Linked DNA regions of Homo sapiens: all the other regions are linked to region 3. The links are contacts of gene promoters, found by promoter capture Hi-C in blood cells and fetal thymus (Javierre and others, 2016). All regions are on one chromosome and are shown on one strand. The core of a region is centred on a gene start or on the middle of the fragment in contact, and the rest is flanking DNA. Distances in the headings are between cores, read along the strand shown. Region 1 holds the start of PCDHGA4 (protocadherin gamma subfamily A, 4). Region 2 overlaps PCDHGA1 (protocadherin gamma subfamily A, 1). Region 3 holds the start of PCDHB1 (protocadherin beta 1). Region 4 has its middle 5.1 kb from the start of TAF7. Region 5 overlaps LOC105378198 (a long non-coding RNA gene).

Region 1 (2,700 bases), core at 143-2,642, 300 kb before region 3:
GTATCCACAAGTATTATGAGAATCCTGGCAGTGCCAGAGCGAACCGGGTCACCTCCATCGAAGGCCGTGAGAACGAGGTGGTGAACCGCCTCTTCCTCGCGATCTAGAGCGCGTTCCAGCACCAGCTCTGGGTACTTAATCCCATCGGCCCCACTTTGCACGTCCAGGGAAAAGTAACCGTTTGAGTTGAGCTGGTAACCCTGCAGGGAGTTTACACCTACATCCGGATCAAAAGCTTCAGGAAGAGGAAATCTTGCCCCAGGATTTTCATTTTCAGCAACTTTTATTTCCCTCTGTTCTGTCCCAAAACTGGGTGGGTTATCATTAACATCGATTATTTCCACCTCTACCCGCAAAATCTTCACTGTATCTTCTAGAAGAATCTCCAGGTTTGTCACACAGTTTGGAGATCTGTCGCAGAGCTCCTCCCTGTCTATCCTACCCGCGGTGACCAAGGTGCCGCTGCGCGGGTTCAGGGCGAAAAGCTGCGTCCTACCTCTGGAGACGATGCGGACTCCGCGCTCCGCCAGCTCCCGGGGCGCCAACCCCAGGTCCTTGGCGATGTTGCCCACCACTGAGCCTTCTTCCTGCTCCTCAAACACCGAGTAGAGAATCTGTTCGGCCCTGATTTCCACCAGAACCCCCAGGAGAAGGCAGATCTGGAGCAGCCGGGTGTGGTCTGGGCGAGCAGGAGGCGCCGCCATTACAACCCCGCCGCGGAGTCGCCTGTGCTTCGGTTTTCCCTCTGTCGAGGCCTGAGGAGCCCCAGGATCTTCTGGGTCCAAAATAAAGTGCATTCACAGCCAGAGCTCTCAGGGCTTCCGCTTGAAGCTTTCATAAAGCTCCAGAGCCAGTGCTTTGTGCTGCAGAAATCTTGTGATTCTGATTAAATTTCTGGTTTGTCTTTTCCCCCTGATTGGTGAACAGCGACACCCAGAGTCTTAACCTGTTACTGCAATTTATTCTTGGTTAAAAAAAGTTTATTTTTTATACACTTTTCTATTCCTATTTCTCCCAAGATAATAAAGTCAAATTCCTGTTTTTGATTTGCAATGAAAATTCAAGAATGATCCAAGTCTTCCTGTACAATAAACTTTATGAAGTTATTTATTTTCTTAGAGAAAATATGACGATTTTTTTCCTAAGATGTGTTCTTCCTCTTTTCAGTTTTCACATTGTTCATCCCCACAGCCCATTCTCAGTATAGCGTATTGTGTGAGGGACATAATTATCTCTCCTAAAGACAAAGGTGGACTTGAAAAATGGATGAGACAGATAAGTGAAAAGACAGTGGGACAGGAACTTGGAGGTCTGGCTTTAGTCCCAATTTATGCAGTAACAAGTTTCCTCACAGGAGTTGACCCTCTAGAACCTGGGGCAATGCTTCAATTCCCTTGCAAAAAACTCACCTACTGTTCAAGAGTTAGCCTTACCCTGTACAAATGAGATTGACAAATAGGATAATAGGTTTGGGAAGAGAATTTGCTCCTTAATTTTGTGTACAGTAGATTCTTGGCCACAAGCTATGCATATGACTATCTTGTTCACAATGTGTTCTCAATCTTTAGAACAATACCTTTCATAGAGTAGTAATTTTTATGAAACCTTTCAATGTTTCATGAATGACCAGTTCAAATGCAAAGCCTAAAACAATGGGTAAATAACTCTGATCTTAAAAATAAAAAAGAAATAAAAAGAAAAGTTAGACTGAATAACTATAAAGTGCAGATAATAGTTTAGTGATTTTTTCACATGACACATTCAGTATTATTTTACAATTTCTAACTTTACTTTAGCTCTCATTTTAGAAATAGCCAGTAAAAGGAAATGTTTTGGTAGCCGAACATGGATTATCATTGCATGTGCCATCGCTTTCTTTCTTATGAATACTTACAGTAATTTACTAATCTGTGAAAATTTGAGATAAAGCAGTACATCAGTTCTTAAGCTTATTCCTCACTTAACAATTAGCAGTAGAAATGACTCATACAAAAGGGCATTAGCTATACAGAATTTAAAAACCCTCAGACTTTGAGAGAGTAGATTAAACGTGTTTTTCACAATCCTCAAAGACCGCACAAACTGCGGATGATTGAGAGGTGAAATAAGATGTTTGGAAATAAATTTGACAGTATGCATTAAAAAAATCTCAACATGTTTATAGATTTAACTAATTCCTCAGAAATCTACACTAAAGAAACAAGAAGTATGGAAAACGCTTTATAAACCCAAATGTTCATTACATTCTTTGTTTTAATAGAGACAAAATAGAAAGAGCATAAAAACAAATAATTTAGGAATGGTTAAGAAAATTATGAAATATCATTGACTGAAATTATAGAGTGGGAATAATATTGACTCAAAGTTAGTGATGCAAATATAAAATTGGACAATATTTGCTACTTGTGATGAGACAAAGTGTTAAGAGTCTTAATAATTGGAAGGCTGTATTAAACATACATGTTGCTGCAAAAAGACAAACTAGAATGTAATTGATGAAGATTACATTAATTACATAATTACATTAATACATAATTACATCAATTACATAATTAATGTAATTGATGAACTTTAACTTGGGTGGGAAGAACTCTAAATACATTTATAAAGAGCTAAGAATAAAATGACTTGAAAATATAGTATTGCATATCAACTAAGAAAAGGCACTGCTATTACTAAGTGTTAACATCTAGGAAACAG
Region 2 (2,734 bases), core at 25-2,524, 280 kb before region 3:
CTGGGCTCAAGGGATCCTCCCACGTCAGCTCCTGCCCCGCCCCGCCCCGCCCCTCCCCGCCCCGCGTAGCTGGGACTACAGTCGCAGGCCGCCCTGTCCGGCTGGTCTTGAACTCCAGGGCTCCAAGGATCTTTCCGCCTCAGCCTCTCAAATTGTTGGAAATACAGACGTGAGCCACTGCGCCCAGCTAGGCAGCATGTTAATGCATCTTTCTTTTCCTTTTTAACCAGCTGAAGGGCCTCATTGCTTATTTTGGATTCAGGCAGTAAGCCTGGTCCAGATATTTATCTAGTCTGAAGCACTTCTGTCCCTATTACATTGCTGGAGGCAGTTTCCTAACCTTCAATTTCTGCTTTTAAGTCCAAGACTATAACTCACATGGCTTTAGACTAGCTCACCACTTTGCTTTTGCTTTCCTCTTATATTTTATGTATCTCTGTATTTTATTGGAGCAGAGTAAATACATCAAAGCATGGACTTACTCCCCGACCATACTTTTTTTTTCTTCTGAAAAGTTAACACACATTAAAATAGGATATATACTTGATTTTTGTTAGCTGATTTCATTACAGGTATAATGTATAAGTCAGGAGGCTTCAAAGATATTTCTCAAGTTGCATGATAAATTTTGTGTTGTTCATTTTGTTACTTCATACATTACTTAAATAGACGTATTCTTCAGTACAGGCACCACAGCTCACACCTGTAATATCAGCACTTTGAGAGGCTGAGGTGGGAGGATCGCTTGAGCCCAGGAGGTAGTGGCTGCAGTGAGCCATGATCATGCCACTGCACTCTAGCATGACCCCATCTCAAAACCAAAAAAATCTGATAATAAAGATAGAATAAAAGGCTAAAATATTCAACAATAATTTAAAATTGCAGTTTATATAGATCTCTATAATCTTATATGAACACAACTAAAAATACTACTTTAGACAATCTTCACCTCTTCAAATGTCCCCAAATAAACTATCACAGTGTCCTGACAGATGACATCTACATTAAATTCAGGGGTAGATTAGCAGGTACTTATAAAAAGAAAATTTGAAAATAGTGTTAGTCATTTAAATATTGGTGAGCCTTTTCTAATCAAACCTTTTAGCCCAGAGGCAAGTAAGAAAATGTTAGAAGCTAGATCGCCGTTTCTAATGCAGTGCTCTTTCCAAACAGAGATGGCATCTCACACATACCTTCAACCCAACCACCTACATTATGATCACAGTCTCCTTTTCAGTGCAAGAACAATTATAAATATACCTGCATATGAACGTGTAGACTCAATCGTGATTTTGCAGGACTTGTAATAAAAAGCTACAAAGATACATGGGTTAGAAGAACTATCTGTAGCAAAGAGCGAACGCTAGTAAGTTAAATCAAGAATTATTTTTCTCTAGATAGCTGATACATTCATCACAAAAGTTTACCTGAGAAAATGGTTCCTTTTTGTCTTCAAGTAAAGACTGGGGTGCTGATAGAAAACCCTTTTTCTCACAGCTCTCCTGGCTGATGAGTGTGTCCGCATAGTTGGGCTGGGGGAAAATCAGGTGGCTCTTCCGCGAGTCCGCAGTGAGGGAGACCTCGTGGGAATAGGTCTGCAGGAAAGCCCGAACCCCGTCCACGCCCACAAAGTGCGAACCGGGCATGCTCGCTAAGCCGCCTCCCGAAGCCTGTAGCAGACGTGACTTGTGCCAGCGCCGCAGCCTGTGCGCCAGCAGCACGATGACGAAGGCCAGGAAGACGCAGGAGACCGCGGCCGCCGCCACCACCAGGTACAGAGTGAGGTCCGAATCGTTGGGTTTGGCGGAGGGCTCGAGGCTGCCCAGGTCGGCCAGGATGTCGGAGATCCTGTCGGCCACGGCCACGGTGAGCGTGACAGTGGCGGAGAGCGGGGGCTGGCCGTGGTCCTGGACGGCCACCACGAGACTCTGCTTGAGCGCGTCTCTGTCCAGCAGGGCTCGCGCCGTGCGCACCTCGCCCGTGTGCAGACCCACCGAGAAGAGTCCCGGCTCGCTGGCCTTGAGCAGGCGGTAGGACAGCCAGGCGTTCTGGCCCGAGTCTCTGTCCACCGCCACCACCTTGGTCACCAGGTAGCCGGGCTCTGCGGAGAGGGGCGCCAGCTCCACGCCGGTAGAACCATCTGTGGGGAGGGCGGGGTACAGGATCTCGGGCGCGTTGTCGTTCTGGTCCAGCAGGAATAGGCTGAGAGACACGTTGCTGCTGAGGGGCGGATCCCCACTGTCCCGCGCCATCACTTTCAGTTGCATGTCCCGGAACTGCTCATAGTCGAAGGATCGCAGCGCATACAGGACCCCAGTGTCGGAGTTGATGGAGAGGTAGGCAGATAGGGGTGCCCCCTGGATAGTGTCCTCTATTAGGGAGTAAGTGATTTGTGCATTCTCATTGCTGTCCAAGTCGTGGGCCCTCACAGAGAAGATGGAGGCTCCTCTGGGGTTGTTTTCGGGAATGTAGGCAGAGTAGGAGTCCTGATGGAAGACTGGGGAGTTGTCATTGATATCTGTCACTAGTAGTGAAATGTGAGTTTCAGTAGATAGAGCTGGAGTTCCTTGGTCTATTGCTGTTATTGTGATGTTGTACCCAGAGATAAGTTCTCTGTCCAGTGTTCTTTCAGTCACTAAACGGTAATAATTATCAACTAACTTTTCCAATTTAAAGGGTAAATTTCCAGGAATGAAACATGTGGTGTAGCCATTGTCTCCTGAGTCCTGGTCAT
Region 3 (2,700 bases), core at 110-2,609:
GTGATATTATAGCCTGAGACCTCCTCCCGATCCAAGCTTCTGTCAGTGACCAGTGAGTAAGAATTCCCAAATGTAGGTTTGATTACAAAGGGAAGGTCTTCTCTGAGGAAGCAGGTGACTTTTCCTCCCACTCGAATGTCCCGGTCTCTGATAGTGAAAAGGGCTACTACTGTCTGTGGTGGTGAGTCTTCAGGGAGTGGGCTGGACACAGAGGAGACCATCACTTCGGGAGGATTGTCATTCACATCCACCACTTCTACCAGGACTTTGCTGTGGGCAGAGAGGCCTCCACCATCTGTAGCTTGAATGTCAATGTCGTATGTTTCAATGGCTTCAAAATCGAGGGGTCCTCTTAGTCGAACTTCTCCATTTTGAGGGTCAATCTGAAACGTCTTGAGAATTGCTTCTGGGTTTTGAGCTAAAGAGTAAGTTATCGCTTTGTTGGTGCCCTCGTCTAGGTCCACGGCAGTCACCGTGGCCACCAAAGAGCCATTGGGGCTGTTCTCTGATACCTGGGCTCTGTACACCAGTCGCGAGAACTGGGGCACGTGGTCGTTGACATCCAGAACCACCACGTGGATGTGAGCTGTGCCAGACTTAGGCGGGGACCCGCCGTCCACCGCCGTAATTGTCAAGTTGACTTCAGGCTGCTCCTCTCGGTCCAGGGGTTTGTTCAGCACCAGCTCAGCATATTTAGGCCCGTGGCTGCAGAAGCGGGTGTGCAGGTGGAAATACCCATTGGCACTCAGGGTGTAGTTCTGGAGACCGTTAAGGCCCACGTCCAGATCCTGGGCGCTCTGCAGAGGAAAACGTGAACCCAAAGGGGTGCTCTCCGGAATCTTTAAAAGCGGCTCCTTGTTTAGGAAAACTGGGGCATTGTCATTGATATCAAATACCCTGACCTCGGCCCGGAAGGACTGCAGCGGCTCCACCAGGACTACTTCAAAGTGCAGAACACAAGGGTCGGCTTTGCCACAAAGTGACTCCCGATCCAGTTTCTCCTTCACAAACAAATCTCCCGTCTTGCGGTGGAGCCGGAAATGCATTTTGTTGCCCTCGGAAACCAGCCGCGCCCCGCGCGCAGCCAGCTTCCCTACCTCCAGTCCTAGGTCCTTAGCTACGTTGGCCACAAACGAGCCGCTCTCCATTTCCTCTGCCACTGAATAGCGGATAGTTGTCGCATCCCCCACAGATATGCACAGAAAAATGAGAAGAGATCCCACTTGCCTGTTTTGCAAAGATTTTCTGCGCGTACCCGCCATCAGTTCTCACAAGCGCGCTCTCTGCAATCAGAGCCAACTGTTGCGGATATACTTTCACTTTTCTGCAACAGGTTACTGCAACAGCTGCTCTCCGCTTCACTAGCCTCTAACTGCAGCACCACCAAAGGCTAGCCGAGCCCATTAAGCTGTTTTGCACTTGAAAGAAAATTTGCATTGAGCGACTCAACTCCCCAGTCTAGCGAATGTATTAATAGATATGTTCTCATTCCGGAGAGTTAGGTAGAGGTTGAAAGTTTGTTGCCAAAGCAACAACAGACTCACCTGTTAATTCCCTTTCAGGAAAAAAAGTCCTTGGGAATTGAGAAGCCAATGAGATTAGTCGTTCAAGCTGAAGTCATTCTATCTGCTAGCTGTCTGGAGCCACTGAAGCTGTGGGCGAACAGCAACAAGTTTAAGCTACATCTGCACACTCTGCGGTCCATCCAGAGACCAAGAAAGAAGCACAAGGATCCTGCAGAGTCTTCCGAAGCCCAAGCCAAATATATGAGGCAGGGAGCTAGAGAATGTGGAGGAAGTGGTCAGTAGGAAAAGGAATGGGAACAGACATTCTCCTTCAGAAACTTGAGGTCCAGTAAGTACACTGACAGGGGACTAAGCCAACTGACCTCTTGATTTGCACTACGCTATCATGCTACTTCTACGTATTCGCTCCGCCCCCCTCCAAATATCTGTATACACGTGCACAAAGGGAGCAGCTGGCTTGTCACTTATGATTATAATGGCAGTAGTATTTATTGGATATGATTTCCATGTACTGAGACTATGACAAGTGATTTACATGCATTATTTAATTTAATACTTGCAACAACTATATGGAGTAGACATTATTAAAAAAAAAAAAAGACAAAGAAAGTGAGATGGGAGAGGTTATGTCAAGGTCCCCTACCTAGCAAATGTTAGAAATAAAACTCAATTTAATTTTGTCTGACTCCGAAGTCTATGCTCTTAATCAGTACACTACTCTGCTTCCCAGATAATATAATGAATAAATCAAATGAAGATAAATATTTGGTTTTGGATTTTAAAGCAAATAAAATAAGATTGCTTACACATATTGAAAATGACCTAATAGAAATATAGGAGATATTTGTTGAGTTTCCTTTATGATCATAGGATAATAGAATGTTTAATAAGACATTTCAGAAAGATGAGATCCAGTCTCCTTCTCACCCACTCTCCACTTTAAAAAAAAAAAAAAACAGATGAAGAAACTAAGGCCCGAAGTGATGAAGTCACTTGCCCAATTCATACAGCTACTCATGGCAGTGTAAGAACTAGAACTTGTCTTCTGATGCTGTCTCATGCTCATTACCTAAAACATTTGATTTCTCATTTGTGCTCAATACTTTATGTCCCAGGTGCTATAAAATTATGGCCACTTAACGGAAATCTAACTATATTTTCCAATAGGAAAAAA
Region 4 (2,700 bases), core at 43-2,542, 260 kb before region 3:
CTCAGCCTCTGGAGTAGCTGGGACTACAGGCATGTGCCACCAAGCCCAGCTAATTTTTGTAATTTTAGTAGAGACGGGGTTTCACCATGTTGGCCAGGATGGTCTTGATCTCTTGACCTTGTGATCCACCCGCCTCGGCCTCCCAAAGTGCTGGGATTACAGGCGTGGGCCACCGTGCCTGGCCGTGACTAGGATTTTAGCACAGAATATGTAAGCTTAAGCAAGGTTTCCCTCAATATCTAGGTTTTATATTATTTCTTGAGGTTTCCAAATAATATATATTAAACAACAACAAAAAAACAGTTTAGGATGCTAGGTGACAAAATTTACTGTTTTTGTAATCTAGGTATTTTGCTACACTTAGAAGATTGACACCTGAAAAGCTCCCACCATATCTGGCTTTACAGTGGATCATTTATCAAGTAGTTTATTCTTACCAAGGTCTCAACACCAATGGTGGCAGTTCCATCAATAACAGAAAGGAAAGATTCTGGATACAATAACAAAATAGTATATTGATCTCACTATTCCTGTTTCAGTTATGAGTTCTAAGTGGATTCTAAAATCCACGTTTCCAACCTTGATTCTTCTGTGCTTCAGGTTTAGTTTAGCCAGATGTGTACTAGAAACATACTTGAAAGTATCTCTCAGGCAACTCAAGTGTAAATGTTCAAAATGGCCGGGTGCAGTGGCTCATGCCTATATCTCAACACCTTGGGAGGCTGAGGCAGGTGGATCACCTGAGGTCAGGAGTTCAAGACCAGCCTGGCCAACATGGCAAAACCCATCTCTATTAAAAATACAAAACAAATTAGCTGGGCATGGTGGTGGGCACCTGTAATCCCAGCTACTTGGGAGGGTGAGGTGGGAGAATAGCTTGAACCTGGGAGGTGGATGTTGCAGTGAGCCGAGATCATGCTACTGTGCTCCAGCCTGGGCAACAGAACAAAACTCCATCTCAAAAAAAAAAATACAGGTTCAAAATGGAACTTTTCCTCTTCCTTGAAAATTTGCTTTTCCTTCTGGGTTCCAGTAAAAATAAATGGCACCACCACACATCCCAACTGTGGAAGCTGGACACTAGAGCCATAACTTTACATTTCTCCCTTTCCCTTGCTACTTTTGATTTTACTTAAGAAGTTCTTCACTCACTCTACTTCATCCTTACAGCCACTGTCCTATTTCAAGCCATTATTATTATCTATCAAATGGCAATAGCTTCTTTACCATCCAATTTAGTTTTCACTGCCACCAAACTCATTTTTCTGAGACATATTTGATTGTGTTACTACCATGCTGAAAACCCTTCAGTGACATCTCATTGCTCTCAGGGCTAGGTTTGTATTTCTCAAAAAGATGCACAAGATTATGAGTTCTCCATTTACCTTTTCAGCCTCAGCTCCGCATTCAGTATATGGTCAGTCCACTCTGAACTTACATTTTTTTCAAGGAGCTTACTCATTCTCCCACTCCTGGGCCATAGATCCTTTTAACAAGCAGTTCACTCCACCTAGATGACTTTACCCTTTGTCTGAGTCCTACTTAACCCTCAGGTCTCAACCTAAGTGACTTCAGCAAGGCTTTTCTGACCCTTTTCTCCCTCTAGGTTAAGCAACCCTATTACGGCTTTGCACTTTGTTCTTCCCTCTCTCATTTATTTGACAAACATTTTGTGTGTGTGTGTGCCAAACTACAAGGGGTGTGTGTGTGTGTGTGTGTGTGTGTGCGCGCGCACCAAACTACAAGCTACTGGATATGCAGTGATGAACAAAGCATTTAGTGTCTATAAACTCATGCACTGCACGGTCTACTGGGATGAGTATCTGTTATAACTAAAGTGTAAATTACCTTTGTTCGTATCTCCTGCTTGGCTTTAAATTTACTGAGATATTTTGCTACATTAGTGACTGTAAACTTACTGAAGAATAGTAGAAAGATCAAAATCTTAACATCAAGACATGTCATGCATGGTTCGTATCCTAGCTCAGTTACCTATTAGTTGTGTGACCTTGCACAGGTAGCAATCTGTTTACCTCAATTTTCTCATCTCCAAAGTGGAGGCAATAATACTACCTACCTCATAGGGTTATTGGGCTGTTGGCTGCTGGCTGCTGAATCATATAAATGACTTATTTAGAACAATGCCTGGAACATAGTAAGTAAACAACAGAAGTAAATTTACCACTATTACAACCCATTAAGGTATGGACCATAACAGATACTAAATAATTAAAGAGTGACTGAAATGTTAGAAAAAGTGTTTATAGGGAAACAACTATTCTAAATGTAATTGTTTTCAAATTTAAGAAATTTTAGAGATCAGTTTCAACCAAATTCAGATGGGAAAAAAAATTCTAAATGAAAGCTTATAAATTAGGTTACAGCAGAAACGGTTTGCTTCAAATTTATCTGCAGCATAAACAAATTTACTCAGCTCTTTCCTCCTACAGTTTAGCACTTACAGTTCTCTTTTCTTGGAATAGTCACCAGATATTCTCATGGATAGCTTTTTGTCACTGAAGGCCCAACTCAACCCTTATTTTCTCTGGTAACCCTATCTGGCCATTCAATCTAATTCTTAAGAAGCATGTGATTTAGATGTTTCATCATGTCAGGTGCTATGTCAAGTGCAGTGGTCTTCATTAAAAAGTTGGAAGGTTCTTTGCTACTATTTTCTAATATATGTGTTCTGGAGGATAT
Region 5 (2,700 bases), core at 102-2,601, 310 kb after region 3:
GGTTGCCATCCCCTTTTGTATTGGTGCTGTCCTGTGGGAGAGCTGGAAATTCTGCTTATTTCCTTTTGTGTCTATGTAAGTAATAAACTGTCTGAATCAAACAAGGACTGCTGTTTCTTTACTAATCAAAGCTGCTAGGATTTGCCTGAGAATGGGTTCTTATTTTTCCTTGAAGTTCTGTTTCAAAATAGTTTCTTTTTCAAACCTTGTCAACTTGTCTTGGCAACCAGGGATTTGGTTCATATCTGGGAGAGATGACAGTAGTGAGAAGCTGCTCAGAGGAACTGTGGGGATCTGGAAATTTGGTGAAGAGCAGATTTACTCATGGAGTAGGTCTCAAAAGACTCTTACCAAGGCTAACCTCCAGAGTTTCTGTCCCAACCTTAAACCTCTTCAGCTCCTGACCCAGCCTAGTCTTCTCAGGAATCCATGCCGTTTTAGACCCCTCCTTGAAAAAGGGCTCTCTCCCATCTCCAAGAAAATGATAAGCTTGGTGGGGACATACATAGAGGACTAAAGAGGGTCCATGGACATCAAACCTGCCCCCAAAACACAGACAGGAAGAAGCATGCAAATATATCACTGAGATAATGCAGAAAGTAGATTGAATTTGGAGTTCCTTGACAGATAAGTGTCATGAGTTGGTATACCCTGGGCAGTAGGGTCAGCCTAGGCCTGAATGGTTCAAGAACGATGCTGAGTTTTAAGTTTCCTTCTACCCACCACAACTTCCAGACCAGGACACACAAACTTGGGAAGCCCCCATTTGAGGATGCACACCACTGAGAGAAACCCATGTCTTCCTTTCCCTAAAAACTGTTCCCCCAGCTGTGTCTAGGCTCACTCTCCCTCCTCCCACTCAGTGGCTACCTGCCACAAGTCTTGGACCAGCCTCAGTGCTTCCCAGATGACCAAACCGGGGTCATTTTAGCTCAAATCAACTTTCACAGCCAGTACATGAGTCAGACCCATGAAATCCTCCCAAACTGCCAAATGCCAGCCTTGGGTCTTTAAAGCTACCAGAGCTTCATTGTTACCTGGTTACTAGGTAATAACCCACAACAATTACTCCTCTCTGGATCTGGGCCTAAACATTCTGGTATCTTATAGCTCTTTTGTATTAATACTTTCTCTGATTACCTGAAATGATATACCACATAGAAAACTGTACTAAGAGTTATTGAAGAATGTGCAAAAAATTAACAAGAGGTCCAAGGAAAACTAAGCACATGAAGAAAAGTCAAGCATTAACTTCAGGAAAAGTAGAAAGAAGAAAAGGAGACAATCATGGTATATGACCATGTTCTGCTGGGAATTATATTTTGCAAAGGCATAAAAATGTTAACATGAATATTCATCTAACAAAGAATTGTTAGGGCCAGGCACAGTGGCTCACACCTATAATCCCAACACTTTGGGAGGCCGAGGTAGGAGGATGGCTTGAGCCCAGGAGTTCGAGATCATCCCATGCAACACAGTGAGACCTCATCGCGACTAAAAATAAAAAATTAGCTGGGCGTGTGGTATGTGCCTGTGGTCCCAGATTCTTGAGAGGTTGAGGCAGGAGGATCGCTTGAGCCCAGGAGGTGGAAGCTGCAGTGAGCCATGATCGCACCACTGCATTCCAGCCTGGGTGAGAGAGCAAGAGCCTGTCTCAATAAAAGAAAAAGAAAGAAAAGAAAAATTAAGTCATTTCAATCATATACAAACTATCCTAATTAATAAGAAGGAACACTTCCTAAATGATTTTCTAATGCTAAAATAACCTGATAGTGAATCCTATTGTAAAAAATACACACAAAAAAGGAAAAGCCCAGTCTAATGTCATTAATGTAAATAAATGAAAAAAAACCCATACTAATTATTAGAAAATTAAATCCAGTAGTACATAAAAAAGAATAATACAGCATAAGTAGAATTTCTCCAAGATATGAGGTTGACTTAACATTATAAAAGTAATTAGTATATATGCAAAGTTAATGAACTAAAGGGAAAATCATGATTATCTATGTACATGCAGAAAAATTACTTAATAAAATTCAACAACCTTTCATGATTTTAAAATAATCTTAATTAATCTTAAGATTTTTAGCAGATATTAGTTGTATCCTTAGGCATATAAGAGAATATTTGTAACTTGGTAAGGGTGTCCAGGGGAAAAAAAAAAAGCTAAAGCAAACATCATACTTAATGGTGAAATGATTAAAGCTTTCCCTTTGAAATCCAGAACAAGACAGGGATGTCTGCTATCATCACTTTAATCATCCTGTCGTCATTGTTCCAAAGGGCCTAACCAGTGTATACAACAAGAGAAAAATATAAAGGTCTGAGGTGTTCATATGGCATTCTCCATGGTTAGAAAAAGAAGGGGAAAAGTATAAGGAGGTTATTCCGTAGGATTTTGGGGAACAGGTGGTATTTGGTTACGTGAGTAAGTTCTTTAGTGGTGATTTGTGAGATATTGGTGTACCCGTCACCAGAGCAGTATACATTGAACTCAATTTGTAGTCTTTTATCCCTCACCCACTTCCCACCCTACACCCCTGAGTCCCCAAAGTGCACTGTATCATTCTTATGCCTTTGCAGCCTCATAGCTTAGCTCCCACTTATGAGTGAGAAGATACACCTTCTTATATGAAACTTTTTTATTTAGAGTTAAAACTCTGTATGTTTAGAGTTAATACGAGTATAAAACTCTCC

The links. Contacts are between HindIII fragments. The CHiCAGO score rates a contact against its expected background, and 5 or more counts as called.
Region 1: a fragment that was not itself captured here is called in contact with the fragment with the promoter of PCDHB1 in region 3 in 1 of 17 cell types (M0 macrophages); the score reaches 5.6 in M0 macrophages.
Region 2: a fragment that was not itself captured here is called in contact with the fragment with the promoter of PCDHB1 in region 3 in 1 of 17 cell types (M1 macrophages); the score reaches 5.7 in M1 macrophages.
Region 4: a fragment that was not itself captured here is called in contact with the fragment with the promoter of PCDHB1 in region 3 in 1 of 17 cell types (M1 macrophages); the score reaches 5.3 in M1 macrophages.
Region 5: a fragment that was not itself captured here is called in contact with the fragment with the promoter of PCDHB1 in region 3 in 1 of 17 cell types (M1 macrophages); the score reaches 5.3 in M1 macrophages.

What each region holds. Positions count from the first base shown.
Region 1 is chr5:141,353,205-141,355,904 of GRCh38, reverse strand. All of the region lies in intron 1 of PCDHGA1 (protocadherin gamma subfamily A, 1), which reads right to left. All of the region lies in intron 1 of PCDHGA2 (protocadherin gamma subfamily A, 2), which reads right to left. All of the region lies in intron 1 of PCDHGA3 (protocadherin gamma subfamily A, 3), which reads right to left. The region is part of intron 1 of PCDHGB1 (protocadherin gamma subfamily B, 1); the gene reads right to left. It also overlaps PCDHGA4 and PCDHG@. The HindIII fragment of the contact is 1,117 bases long and covers 834-1,950 here.
Region 2 is chr5:141,331,799-141,334,532 of GRCh38, reverse strand. It overlaps PCDHGA1 (protocadherin gamma subfamily A, 1), which reads right to left. Exons shown (of 4, transcript NM_018912.3): 1 at 1,428-2,734. It also overlaps PCDHG@. Among named protein-coding and RNA genes, the nearest start is that of PCDHGA1, 2.7 kb to the right of the region's middle. RefSeq lists a silencer at 634-863. The HindIII fragment of the contact is 4,462 bases long and covers 1-2,734 here.
Region 3 is chr5:141,050,033-141,052,732 of GRCh38, reverse strand. It overlaps PCDHB1 (protocadherin beta 1), which reads right to left and starts at 1,359. Exons shown (of 1, transcript NM_013340.4): 1 at 1-1,359. The coding sequence starts at 1,262. PCDHB1-AS1 (PCDHB1 antisense RNA 1) reads left to right here. Exons shown (of 4, transcript NR_105056.2): 3 at 1,563-1,854. It also overlaps PCDHB@. RefSeq lists an enhancer at 950-1,778. The HindIII fragment of the contact is 4,524 bases long and covers 39-2,700 here.
Region 4 is chr5:141,314,299-141,316,998 of GRCh38, reverse strand. No RefSeq gene overlaps it. Among named protein-coding and RNA genes, the nearest start is that of TAF7, 5.1 kb to the left of the region's middle. The HindIII fragment of the contact is 2,150 bases long and covers 218-2,367 here.
Region 5 is chr5:140,739,360-140,742,059 of GRCh38, reverse strand. All of the region lies in intron 3 of LOC105378198 (a long non-coding RNA gene), which reads right to left. Among named protein-coding and RNA genes, the nearest start is that of ZMAT2, 40 kb to the right of the region's middle. The HindIII fragment of the contact is 1,719 bases long and covers 492-2,210 here.